Linked DNA regions of Homo sapiens: region 1 is linked to region 2. The links are contacts of gene promoters, found by promoter capture Hi-C in human tissues and cell types (Jung and others, 2019). All regions are on one chromosome and are shown on one strand. The core of a region is centred on a gene start or on the middle of the fragment in contact, and the rest is flanking DNA. Distances in the headings are between cores, read along the strand shown.

Region 1 (6,385 bases), core at 2,506-5,005, 42 kb after region 2:
AAGATGTCCGTGCTTTGTGAGCAGGCAGGAGTCTTCGAAGGTTCCAAAGCAGGGAAATGACATAAGACTACTGAAGGCCAGGCATGGTGGCTCACGCCTGTAGTCCCAGCACTTTGGGAGGCCGAAGTGGGTGGATCACGAGGTCAGGAGTTTGAGACCAGCCTGGCCAACATGGTGAAACCGTGTCTCTACTAAAGATACAAAAAAAAAAAAAAAAAAAAATTAGCCAGACATGGTGGCACATGCCTGTAAGTCCAGCTATTCAGGAGGCTGAGGCAGGAGAATCGCTTGAACTTGGGAGGCAGAGGTTGCAGTGAGCTGAGATTGTGCCATTGCACTCCAGCCTGGGCGACAGAGTGAGACTCCATCCCCCACCCGCCCCCCCCCCCCACAAAAAAACACGACTGAAAATACTTGGAAATAGTCTCCTTAATTTGTTTTTTTTTGTTTTCTTTTTCCACCAATGGTGGAATTCGGATGGGAGGAGGCTTCTAATTTTCTGCTCACAATGTTGTTCCTTCACTAGTTTGAAGATTCTTCTGTTGTGAAAGACCAAGAGAACATATGATTAGTTAATAGGAGCTGTATTCTATCTGTAGCTTATCTCTTCCTGGCCCCAAATATAGCTTAAAACCTTGCTGTCCTTCCTCTGCTTACTAAAAAAAAAAAAAAAATTGTTCAAGAACTTCAGCTAATTCTGGATTTGTCTTCTGACAAAGTTCCCTGTGGTTCATACCACATTTTTGTTTCCTCCCTGGCCATGTGCTGGCCCCTGAAGTGTTTAGATCTGCTGTTTTAAAAACTGAGCTCCCTAGCCAGTCAGATTAATTGCTTTGGATCATGCCATTCTGTCTTTCTCAGATTGTCGTATGTTAGTGTCTCCTGTGCCACATAAATAGTAATCTCTTGTAGGTGTCTGAGGTATATTTTTCTTGGACTTGTCAAAATTAGTTCTCAGAGCTTAGAGATGGTGTCCTGCTGGGTTTATTGTTCCCTTGTCTTCTTGTTACTAGTTCCAAAATTATATTCTCACTTTCTTCCAGGGTTCTTGGCTGCCTAACTGATCAATTCTTTTTTGGTCAGAGTTATGGATGAATTTTATTGGCTTCGTACTTTTCCAAAATTTCAACCATGAGCCTATAGGGTTGTATATATAAATTTTTAGTAGAGACAAGGTCTTACTGTGTTGCCCAGGCTGATCTCGAACTCCTGAGCTCAATCAATCCTTCTGCCTTGGTCTCCCGAAGTGCTGGGATTACAGGTGTAAGCCACCATGCCTGGCCATATATTACTTTGTAAAATGAACAAAGTTATTAATTGAAAAGCATGAAGGTGGTGAGGATGATAGCTTTGCTTATTGCTTTTTCAGAGGTGGGTCAAGAGTTCTTATGATATGTCTTTTAAATTCTAGAATAATACCTACAGATTTCTCTTTACATCTTGATTCTGTACAAATTTGTGTGGTTTAAAAAAATGAGAGAGTTCTCTCCACTTCTTTGGTTTCTTTAGGCAGTAAGTGACAAACTCTCATAGCAATACTTCATCTACTTTGCTTTCCTTTATATTTGCACCCAAATTTCTTCATTCTCTCACGCATATATCTCTTGTAGTAGATTGTTTGGACAAAGGGCACCTTGAACTGGCAGCCTTGCATTCTGCTTGCCTGCCCAGGCTTGGTCCTGTAAGGAGACTTGTCCTTTCTTTTTGTTTGTTTTTTGAGATAGGGTCTTGCTCTGATGTCCAGGCTGGAGTGCAGTTGTGCATCACAGCTCACTGCAGCCTCAAACTCCTGGGCTAAAGTGATCCTCCTGTCTCAGCCTCTCAAGTAGCTGGGACTGCAGGCACACACCACCATGCCTGGCTAGTTTTTTTGCAGAGATGAGGTCTTGCTTTGTTGCCCAGGCTGGTCTCAACTCCTGACCTCAAGCGATCCTCCTGCTTCAGCCTCCGAAACTGTTGGGATTACAGGTGTGAGCCACCATGCCTGACTGATTTGTTCCTTTTGGTGGTCAATCTTGGTTCAGTAGTATATAAATTTAGAGTGCTGCTGTATTTTGAGCAGCTGCTCTGTCATATGAGCTTGAAATATTGGGTTCTATGCTGCTTCTATGTTGTGTAAGTCTCCAAACTGAAAGGATTTGTGACTTTAAAAAATGCCCACTTTTGCTCATATTTTTTGTTTCCTTTATTTGTTTGGCACTTGTTTTCACAGCGGTGACTTCAGAGCACAATTACTGAGAAACCTTGAGTGTTGATGTAAATCCTCCACTGGGTTCTACTATTACATACATCTTCGTAACTAGGTAAACTTCCAGGAGTCACTGAAATTTGGTATCTGTAAATGAAAAATTATATCAAATACAGATACCAGTGAAATTGCTAGATTTCATTGATGATTTCAGTTCAGTATTCTAAAGTCTGGATGTCACTTAGTACTTGGCAGGATTGCAAAGCAATGACATATGTGCATGCAGGTAGTTTTAATTCAAGCCAATTGTGAGAAGGATGTTTTATTGGTATAAGATCAGTGTAGTGTTGAGTTGGTTGTGGTTTTCAATTGCTGCTTTTGTTTTGGTTTTAAATTATAAATTAGTTCATTTGTCTTTATCATCAGTTTACAGTTGCATTGTGTCATGTGCATTTAACTTATACTAATTCAAGTCTCAATGTTTGCTTAAAAATAATTAACAATATGTATTTTTTTCATGCAACATCTCCTTAAATACAGGCCAGATGCGTTTCTTCTGGTATTCAACCATAGAAACAGCAATCCCTTCCAATGCTGCAGGAAAATTGGCAGGGTTAGGCTTTGTGAAAGGTAATGCAGCACTCAGAAAACCACATGTGCTTACTGTGTGTGCTATTTAAGTAATTTTCAAGGATAATTTTGTCTTAACCTTAGCCTTGATTTTAGAAGCCAAGCCTTGCCTAAAAGGTGACTCCGTGCAGTTTGTGGAGAGTTCTTTGGCCAGATCTATAGGATGTAGTGCTGTGTTTTTAGCATCAGTAGTGCTTTGGAGTTATAATTTCCTAATAATGAGAATTGAAGTCAGGTATGTTTTGCTGTTAAAATATGACTCATTTGTGACTCTGTTTCTAAATAGGTGTGTATTTTCTCCCCTCTGTTTACGTGGTGATAGTCCATTTTTATCACTGAGTTTGTTCTAGTGGAAAGCAGTAGTGGGTGAGAAATGTGGACTGTGTTTAGTAACTTGGAAAGCCACTGGCTTAAAGTAAAGCACATTTTATTTCCCAGAGGTGGGAGTCCTTGGGGGTAGTGATAATGTTGGTTTACTTCTGAACATTTATCCAACTAATCAGTGATGGAATTAAGTCTCTATTATTCTTTCATATTATGAAAGCTTCTAATTGAAAATGCAAAACAATTATGAGGCACTTTAACCCCATCAAGTTTATGAGAAGAACATTAAGTGCCTAGTGGATGTTTGCCCAAAGGACCCAAGTGGGCAATTCACAAAGGAGGGAATTAACCAGTAAAAAGCCACAGAAAAGCACCGAATAAACCTAGTCTTCAGAGACTCAAAAGTTAAAATATTATCCTATATCCTGTTAAATTGGCAAAACCAAAAATGATTAACATACCTGACGCTGCAAAGTCACAGTGGCCTGGTGCATTTGGACGTTGTTGGTGATGTTGTGTAAAAGACTGCATCTTCTCGGAACAGCAATTTGGCATGATTATCAAGATCTACAAAAATGTTCATGCCCTTGCAGTCCTCTGTAATACTTGTTATCCCTAGGGAACTGAAATTATGGGTAAGGATATTCAGTCCCACATTATTTAATTTCCGAAACCATTAGAATAGCTTCAGAAGTTCAACAAGAGGAAAATGGTGAAGTCAGCCACGGTTATTCATTAGAAGAAACAACATAGAGTCTATATAGCAGAATGAAACATGCTTGTACTAGGCCAAGTGAAAAAAGGTAAAACATTAAATGAACACTGATGAGAACAAGGTTAAACATGTTATAACTAACATAATATCTAAGTGTTATTAGTTGTGGGGCAAGCGTTTATAGATGTATTTTCTCTTTTTTTGTTTATAATTAAATTCCTCATCAAAGTAAAGAGAACATTAAAGAATTAGATAAGGCTATGGTAGGATGAAAATGAGATGCTGGGATGACTTTGTTTTAAATCCAAGGAGATGTGTCAGCTGTTTTTGGTGTGCCGTGTGGTTCTACAAACTGCTCATTTGCTGTGTAAATGGATGTAGCTTTCCAAGATGCCTGGGTATGAATGAGAAGTAATTTTGGTAAAGTAACATGTTAAGGGCATATTTTAAAGTTCACATTCCATCTGCTGAGTGTTCTGTATTTGCAAAGGTATTTATTACAGGCTTTCTTGCTCCGTTGAGAATACAAGCTATAGAACCATGTAGAAATAGTTTTTTTTTTTTTTTTTTTTTTTTAGATGGAGTCTTGCTGTGTCACCCAGGCTGGAGTGCAGTGGTGCGATCTCGGCTCACTGCAACCTCTGCCTCCCGGGTTCAAGCAATTCTCCTGCCTCAGCCTCCCGAGTAGCTGGAGTTACAGGCGTCCACCACCACGCTTGGCTAATTTTTTTGTATTTTTAGTAGAGACAGGGTTTCTCTATGTTGGCCAGGCTGGTCTCGAACTCCTGAGCTCAAGTAATCCACCCGCCTCAGCCTCCCAAAGTGCTGGGATTACAGGCGTGAGCCACCATGCCCGGCGTGTATTCCTCATTTTAAAGCTTTAGATCATTTGTATTTACTTTGATTTAAAGATACTGTCTTACATTTGATATTGTCAGTTGGTATCAACATTTAAAAACAGGTTTACAATTGATAATGAGAAAATAACTTTTATTCGAGGAATGCAAGTCCTTTTATTTTTTATTTGTTTTTGAGATGGAGTCTTGCTCTGTCACCCAGGCTGAAGTAGCTGGGATTACAGGGGGCCTTGCTAATTTTTTGTATTTTTAGTAGAGACGGGCTTTCACTATGTTGGCCAGGCTGGTCTCGAACTCCTGAGCTCAAGTGATCCACCCGCCTCAGCCTCCCAAAGTCCGGGGATTACAGGTGTGAGCCACCACGCCCAGTGAGCTTGGGTTTTCTGCTATAGAACTGACCAGGGCATTCTGGATTTGTGAGTGAAAGCAGGAACCCCTGGAGGGGTGCATCTTGCATTCTGCTTGTTGGGCGAGATGAATGTAGGCCACTCTACCTTCCAGACTGCAGAACTTCCTTGGTATTTACCTTTGTGAAAGGGATCCACAAATGACTTTTTACCCCTGCCAGGGGTTGATGGAAGTTGTTTCCAGGTGTGACCCATCTTCATTGGCTTATCCTGGCGAGCTGTTAGGAAAAAGTGTCATTTTAACTTGCTGTATTCCTCTGAAGCTCCAGAATACAAGATCTGAGCTCACTCTGTTGAAAAACTCCTTTGTTTCTACCTGAAAGCACAGGATGTTCATTTCTATCAGATCAGTTCTTTTCTGTATACCAGCCTGAACATGTGTGTGTCTTTGTCTAAGCACCTCTTGCTTCATAAGATACACCACCAAATTGAAAAGAGTTAGTGACAACTGTTCCTTGGCTGGCATCAAAACCAGACACCAAAGAAAAGCCAGCAAGTAATTTTGTAAGACTAGGTCGGGCTGACCGACGTCATTTTTCTTTCTCAGTTTTGTGTAACTTTTCTGTTTTAAAAAATTGTTTTGCATTAACACGCTGACAGAAATATGCTGCTAATGACATAGTCATGATCTTGATGATGGTGATAATAACTGTAGCCAGCCTTCCTTCACTCTTTGCTCCCCATGTGCCAGGCACTATGCTACACGTGGGACCCCTTTAATCTCACAGTGATCCTGTGTGGGGGGCATAGTTGTTGCTGTTACCTCAGATGAAGAGGGGAGGCTGAGCAATGTTGAGTCAAACCACAGGGACAGGCAGAGCCACGTTCTGAGCTGCACCGTCTTTCTTCCTGATGTAACCATTGTGCCCAGCACATTTAGCATCACCATTTGCTTTCAAAAGCCAGAACATTTTAATCAGAGGAATGCAAACTTTTAAAAGACATTATGAATTTACTTTTTGTGCAGTTTCCTGATGAAAATCACAGGGCTTGCATGTTTTCAAGTGACCAATTTTAATACTAGGTTGGTATTCTTCCTTCCCTCCTTCCTCTTGTCTCTCCGTCTTTCCCTTTTATGTCTTCCATCACAGGGAGTTCTGCATCTCCGTTGCAGAACAACCCTGTAGACTTTTAGGGTTTTGAGTTCCCAGAGGAGCATCTCAAAGCCTTTCCAAATCCAATGATGTCAGACCTTAAAGATCACGGGGCCCAGGGCTGGCAAATCCATGGCCTCACTTTGCTGCCCACCTTTCCGGGTCTGTCA
Region 2 (6,335 bases), core at 3,315-5,814:
AACAGAGTTGAGTGTTAATATCACCTGCTCTGCCAGCCTCCACCTTGTTCTGCCAACTTTCATGGACTTCACCAACAAGCTACCTCATTCTTCAGCTCTGGGACCTGGGAAGGAGGGAGATATTTGACTGGGGACTTGGGCTCTGAGTGGTGGGTCATGGCAAACATGGGTGCTTACTTTCTGCAGGGATGGGCCTTTTCTGGCATTCTGAGGCTGGGTGACACCGGGGCTTCTAGAAGTGGTGATCTCAGCCTGGACTCAAGTTTTTGCAAAGTGGGCTCTCTCAGCAGGGCAGTGCTGACATACCTTCCAGCAGTGTCTGGGAACCAGAACAGGAGAACGAAAATGCAGAGAAGGGCCAGGCATGGTGGCTCACACCTGTAATCCCAGCACTTTGGGAGGCTGAGGTGGGTGGATCATTTGAGGTCAGGAGTTTGAGACCAGCTTGGCCAACATGGTGAGACCCTGTCTCTACTATAAAGTATAAAAATTAGCCGGGCGTGGTGGTGCACGCCTGTAATCCCAGCTACTTGGGAGGCTGAGGTGGGAGAATCCCTTGAACCCGGAAGGCAGAGGTTGCAGTGAGCCAAGATCGTGCTACTGCACTCCAGCCTAGGCAACAGCAAGACTGCATCTCAAAAAAAAAAAAAAAAAAAAAAAAGGCAGTGGATACTTTGGTGATGGTTGCTGATGGACTGGTTGAGGGCAACCCTGGAATATTTTGAAGGGGGCTCTATTTGGGCAGGTGAGGACTTGGATATGTATTCCCAATGTGTCATGAAATTTTATGAATTACAAAAAAATTTTCATGAATTTTGACTCAAGACACCAAAGGCTCTGGCATCTAGAATTATGCAGTACTAGTTTTTCATCCATTATTAATATAAACGGAATCACTGCATCTAGATAAACTAGGTAGATTTAAATACAGCTGTAAGGCTTTATCTGGTTGGTGGAATCAGTGTTATTAATCCTCTGGATCATATTTTTTAAAAACATCCATATCCTTATTAGGTATTGAATAGTTAAAGGAATTGATGTACATAAAATGGTATCCACATATCCTGATGTCATCTCTGTTATGAAAGCTTCCCCCTTCTCTAGTACCGCCATAAACACTTTGCTGGCACTGAATATTTAATGTGTTGAATTATAGTTATTGGAATAGCTATCTTATTCTGACCTCTAGATTGTCCTTCTTTTACTCACCTTTATAATTCTGTAATATTTAGCCAGTGCTTCCTGCAAGGAAGGTCTTTACTAACTGCATGTGGAATCAAATTTAAGTGAATTGAGTGCAGGCCTGAGAGTCAGAGCTGGAGTTTTTGGTTGTAGTCCTAGCCCAGTCACTGGAAAGTTGTATCACCTGGCTAGTCATTTCTTTGAGCCTTGGTCTTCTCCTGTCCTCCTCATCTCTCCTGCCTCCTCCACTGTCATCATTTGCTATCCTGTGCTGGACTTTGTTACCCTCTGCCTTCATTACGGTAACTGGACTGTACTACGCTATACATTCCCATGTGGCAGCGTGGCAGCATGTACTGTTTTTTTTTTTTTCTTTTGAGACAGAGTTTCATTCTTGTTGCCCTCGGCTCACCGCAACCTCGGCCTCCTGGGTTCAAGCGATTCTCCTGCTTCAGCCTCCCGAGTAGCTGGGATTACAGGCATGTGCCACCATGCCCGGCTAATTTTGTATTTTTAGTAGAGACGGGGTTTCTCCATGTTGGTCAGGCTGGTCTCGAACTCCCGAGCTCAGGTATCTGCCCACTTCGGCCTCCCAAAATGCTGGGATTACAGGCGTGAGCCACCATACCCAGCCGTACTGTTTTCTGATACATTATTTTATTTAACATTCATAACTTATGACCAGGTGCCGTGGCTCACACCTGTAATCCCAGCACTATGGGAGGCTGAAGCGGGAGAATCGCTTGAGGACAGGAGTTCAAGACCAGCCTGGGCCACATAGTGAGACCTTATCTCTACAAACAATTTAAAAATTAGCTGGGCATAGTGGTATTTGTCTGTAGTCTTAGCTGCTCTAGAGGCTGAGGAAGGATTGCTTGAGCCTGGGAGTCTGAGGCAGCAGTGAGCTAAGATTGTGCCATTGCCCTTTAGCCTGAACAACAGAGCAAGACTCTATCTCAAAAAAAAAGAAAGACTGACTCATAACCTATGAGATCTATGAGATGGATATGGATATGATAAGCTCTACTTCTCTACTTTTCAGCTGATAAAACGGGCTGGAGAAAGAGTGACTGTTGTGTCTAAGGCACTAGTAAGTGGCCAAATATGGATCTGAACCTAGATCAGTGTGATGTCCTATGTACTCTGGTTATTACTGAAAAATGACTTTCGATTAGAATTATTTTGAGAAAGCCCCACTCTAATTTATTATACTCAAGCTAGTATACCCCTCTGAACTAGTGTAGCATCAAAACTAGTATACATTCTCTGCCGCGCGGTGGCTCACGCTGCAATCCCAGCACTTTGGGAGGCTGAGGCGGGCGGATTGACCAGCCTGGCCAGCATGGTGAGACCCTGTCTCTAACTGAAAATACAATAATTAGCTGGGCGTGGTGGCGGGCACCTATAATCCCAGCTACTCGGGAGGCGGAGGCAGGAGAATCATTTGAATCCAGAAGGCGGAGGTTGCACTGAGCCGAAATCACGCCACTGCGCTCCAGCCTGCGCAACAGAGCGAGACTTGGTCTCAAAATAAATAAATAAATAAATAAATAAAAATAAATACATAAATAAATGTAAAAAACACAAAATAAAATAAAGTAGTATACATTCTAAACTAGTAGTATACTCTCCCAATGCATGAAAACAGAAACAACACCTATAATTATCAGTAATTGTTGTTGTGGATCCAAGTATCTATGTAAGAAGCAAAAAACCCACATCAACAGTTGTTGTCATCGTTGTCACAAACTTAATTACTGGCTAGAAATGTCTAGTGCTGCAGCCAAACAGCAGTAGGAGGAGCCTTTCCCATGGCTGAGTGGAAGGAGGGAAACCTAGACTATTTCTGGGTCTGCCTTGAGCTTTCTCTGCCGCCTTGGGCAAGTGACTTTGGCCCTGGGTCAATGTCCTGGAGTAAGATGGGGCTAACACCACTGCACTGATTTGCTGGGACAGGTGGTGGAAAGTGGTGGTCCAGGGCTGGGAGAGGAGAGGAAGGGCAATGTTTCCTAGGAGAAACTGCACTATGCTGGGGCAGCTGCGGTGCTGCAAAGCGCAGGGAGTGTGGCAAGCGGACGAACCTCGTGTCTTGTTTCCTTGTTTTAAGATTGGAGGTGGAGTGGGATGGATGGTCGATCGCCAGCTCTTCCAGCTCTTAAGTGCTCAAGTTCTGCGCCAACCCAGGGGAGCTTGATTGCTTTCACGTGTCTTGGAAACAACTGGCAAAAAAGAATTTCACATAGTCTGGAAAGGGCTTGGGACAGGGACCACTCTTTGCAGACATTTGTCATTCTTTAAACATAATGACATACATTTATTAAGGACTCATAGTCCATAACTAAGACAAAATGAGCTTCAGTTACGTTCCCTAACTCGGTCCACGTTCCTTTAGAACGTCTCAAGCCCGCATGTCACTCATCGCGGAGTCGCAGCCTTCCCCTGGGTTCGGGCGTCTGCGTTAAGCGCCGGCACATCGTGGGGATCCCCGCGTGAGATTTCTCTGCGCCGTCGGAATAGACTGTTCACGGATTCGCGTTAGGATTCCTTATGCTGCAGAACTTCAAAGAAATAAATGTATCAGAATTGCGATGTTTAAGTTCTAATCTATTTAAGCGGGTGGGTCAGCAGAGGGTCAACAGGAAACTTCAAGGTAAATAGTGGCCTCTGGAAAAGGCCCGGTCGCTCACGGCTTCCCCACTGTCTCCCCAGAGCAGACTATTAATTCTTGCGTTTCAGGCAGAACTGCCGCTGCCGGCCCTGCAGCAGAGCTAGGGAGCGGGCAGGGCAGAAACCCAGCCGAGCAAGCTGCAGGCTCGAGTCCCCGCGGGCGGAGAGGCTCGGGCTGGAGCCTCCGGGGCGGTGAGGAGGGGACTCACCGCACTGAGCACAAACTGCTTTCCCCGGGAGCGCCTGCACCCAAAACCCTCCAGTTCGAGGAATGGGATTAAAAGTGACAAAGAAAGGGGAAGGGGGGCTCCGTGGAGACTTCTGGAGGCGTGGAAGGGGCGTCCCCGAGGAGGGGCGACGCAGCCCTGCAGGGTGCTGGGCGGGCGGGGTGAAGGGGGCTGGGGGGCGCCTGGGCCAGGGCTGGTGGGGGCAGACGGCCGCCTGCCCGTGCTGGCACTGGGGCGAGGGGTCCCGCGCCCCCGGAGGGAGGGAGGGAGGGAGGGAAGGAGGGAAGGAGGTCGGCCCCCGAGGGCGGTGGCGGGGGCGCGAGCTGCGGTCCTGCGCTCCGCCCCGCGCGGGTAGCCGGCCGCGCCTCCCCCTGCCGCATGTGCGCGGTGTTGTGTGCCCTGCCCTGCTCCTCCCCCTCCCCTCCCCTCCCCTCCCCTCCCCTCCCGCCGTCCCCTCCCCCAGCGGCCCCGAGCGAGCGCCAGCGCCACACAGCCCCGGGCAGCCGCCGGCGAGCGCGCCGCGACGCCGAACAGGTGGCCGGAGGCTGCGGGCGCCGCGGCGGGGAGAGGCGAGGCAAGCCCCGGGCGAAGCGAGGCGAGGCGAGGGCGGCCGGGCCGGGCATGCGAGCTGAGCGGCCCCCCGGCGTCGCCGCCGCCTGCCCGCGCCCCTAGCCGCCCGCGCGCCCGAGTCCCCAGCGGCTCCTCCGCGCCCAGCGTCCTCGGTCCCGGCCTCGGCTGCTCCGGCTGCGCTCGGCGAGGGGCGCGGGCCCGCCCGCGGCGGCGGCGGCATGAAAGTGACCGTGTGCTTCGGACGGACCCGGGTGGTCGTGCCGTGCGGGGACGGCCACATGAAAGTTTTCAGCCTCATCCAGCAGGCGGTGACCCGCTACCGGAAGGCCATCGCCAAGGTGAGGGGCCGGGGGCGCGGGCGGGGAGGGGGCGGCGGCGGGGACGGCGCCGGGATCAATATGGCGCTTCCTGGAAGGGGGAGGAGAGGCGCAGGGAGGCGGGGAAAGGGAAAGTGCGGCCGGTCGGGCCTCGCGGGCGCCCCCCGCCCCGGACTGCGGGCGCCAAAGTTCTCTGCGCGGGCCGGGGCGCAGCCTCTGGGACACCCAGCCGGGTCCCGCGGCCCCCGCCCTCACCCTCCGCCCGGGAGCTCCGGCCTCGGTAGCGCGGGGCGAGCCGGGCAGCGGCGCATAGGCCGGCCCTGGGCGCCTCCCCGGAGTCTGCAGACCCAGCCAAGCCCCGAGCCAGCGCGCGGGGGGCGCAGGCCGGGAAATCCAGCCCCAGGCCTTTCCCGGCTCCCAGGCCCCGGGGGCACAGGCCGGGGACTGGGAACTTTTGGTGTGAGGAGAGTTTCGTGACTGCCCTTCCGACAGAGGCGGGTTGCGAGCCTTCTGCCTCCTCTCCCTTACTCGGGCGGGGGCGGAACAGCGGCGGGGGGCTTTTCCTCCATGTCCCCTGCTGGTAGGGGCCGGCAGGGGCGGCCCGTCGCGTCCGGGGGCTGCAGGGTTTGGGGAGTCGCCGGCTTGGGGTCGGGGAGGCGTTCCCGGGAGGGCCACCGCTGGCACTTGGCACTCGCTTGCGAGCATTTACTGAGCTGATCCCACTTGCTGGGCTCTGGAAAGCACAACCTTGGAAGAGTCGCGGAATGAAAAGTTTTCCTGCGAGGACCTCAGCTCCTACCTATCCCGGGCTGGTTCCATGTGGCTGGGCTGCGGGGCCGGGCCTGACTTGGGAGTTGAGTGGATTTCCCTTTTTCCTGGTGGACTGATAACATTGTCTCCACTTCACAGCATTCCTCTACTGTGTGTCAGAAGTGAAAAGGCGTTTTGTTAAATTGTTTTACCGACTGTGTCTGTGTTTGACAACAGCCCACGCTGAAGTTTCTCCCAAGCACCCGGGGATATATTTCCTTTGTAGTAGAGTCCTCTTTGGTGGGGAGCGCATTCGTTTGGGTGCAGTATTTCCCATTTGTTCCCGACAGTGGCCTGGCCCCTGTGGGCTTGGGGGCTGCAAATGACGTTGGAAAGTGGCTTGGTCAGCCCTATTGAGCGTACACAGGGTACTCCGGTGGCATCTTCAGTTCTCTCAGAAATTAAGAAGTAAAAGCTTTTTAGACTTTTGTTTTGCTTTTAGTATATATTGGAAAAAATAGCATAAATTTGGCCTTTTAAAGATAATTTTGGGGGACGTTTGGAGACCCGACACAAGGATGGAAGACGTTGGCTTTAGTAGCTCTGTTATGTTCCTTACAGT

What was found. Contacts are between HindIII fragments. The study calls those that stand out against the background at their distance.
Region 1: a fragment that was not itself captured here is called in contact with the fragment with the promoter of PARD3 in region 2 in 1 of the 25 tissues and cell types used here (dorsolateral prefrontal cortex).

Annotation. Positions count from the first base shown.
Region 1 is chr10:34,770,841-34,777,225 of GRCh38, reverse strand. All of the region lies in intron 1 of PARD3 (par-3 family cell polarity regulator), which reads left to right. Among named protein-coding and RNA genes, the nearest start is that of PARD3, 41 kb to the left of the region's middle. The HindIII fragment of the contact is 5,152 bases long and covers 1,180-6,331 here.
Region 2 is chr10:34,813,525-34,819,859 of GRCh38, reverse strand. It overlaps PARD3 (par-3 family cell polarity regulator), which reads left to right and starts at 4,564. Exons shown (of 25, transcript NM_001184785.2): 1 at 4,564-4,984. The coding sequence starts at 4,865. PARD3-DT (PARD3 divergent transcript) reads right to left here and starts at 4,092. Exons shown (of 2, transcript NR_108043.1): 1 at 4,059-4,092; 2 at 3,438-3,740. RefSeq lists silencers at 4,216-4,265, 4,356-4,525, 5,046-5,325. The HindIII fragment of the contact is 8,052 bases long and covers 1-6,335 here.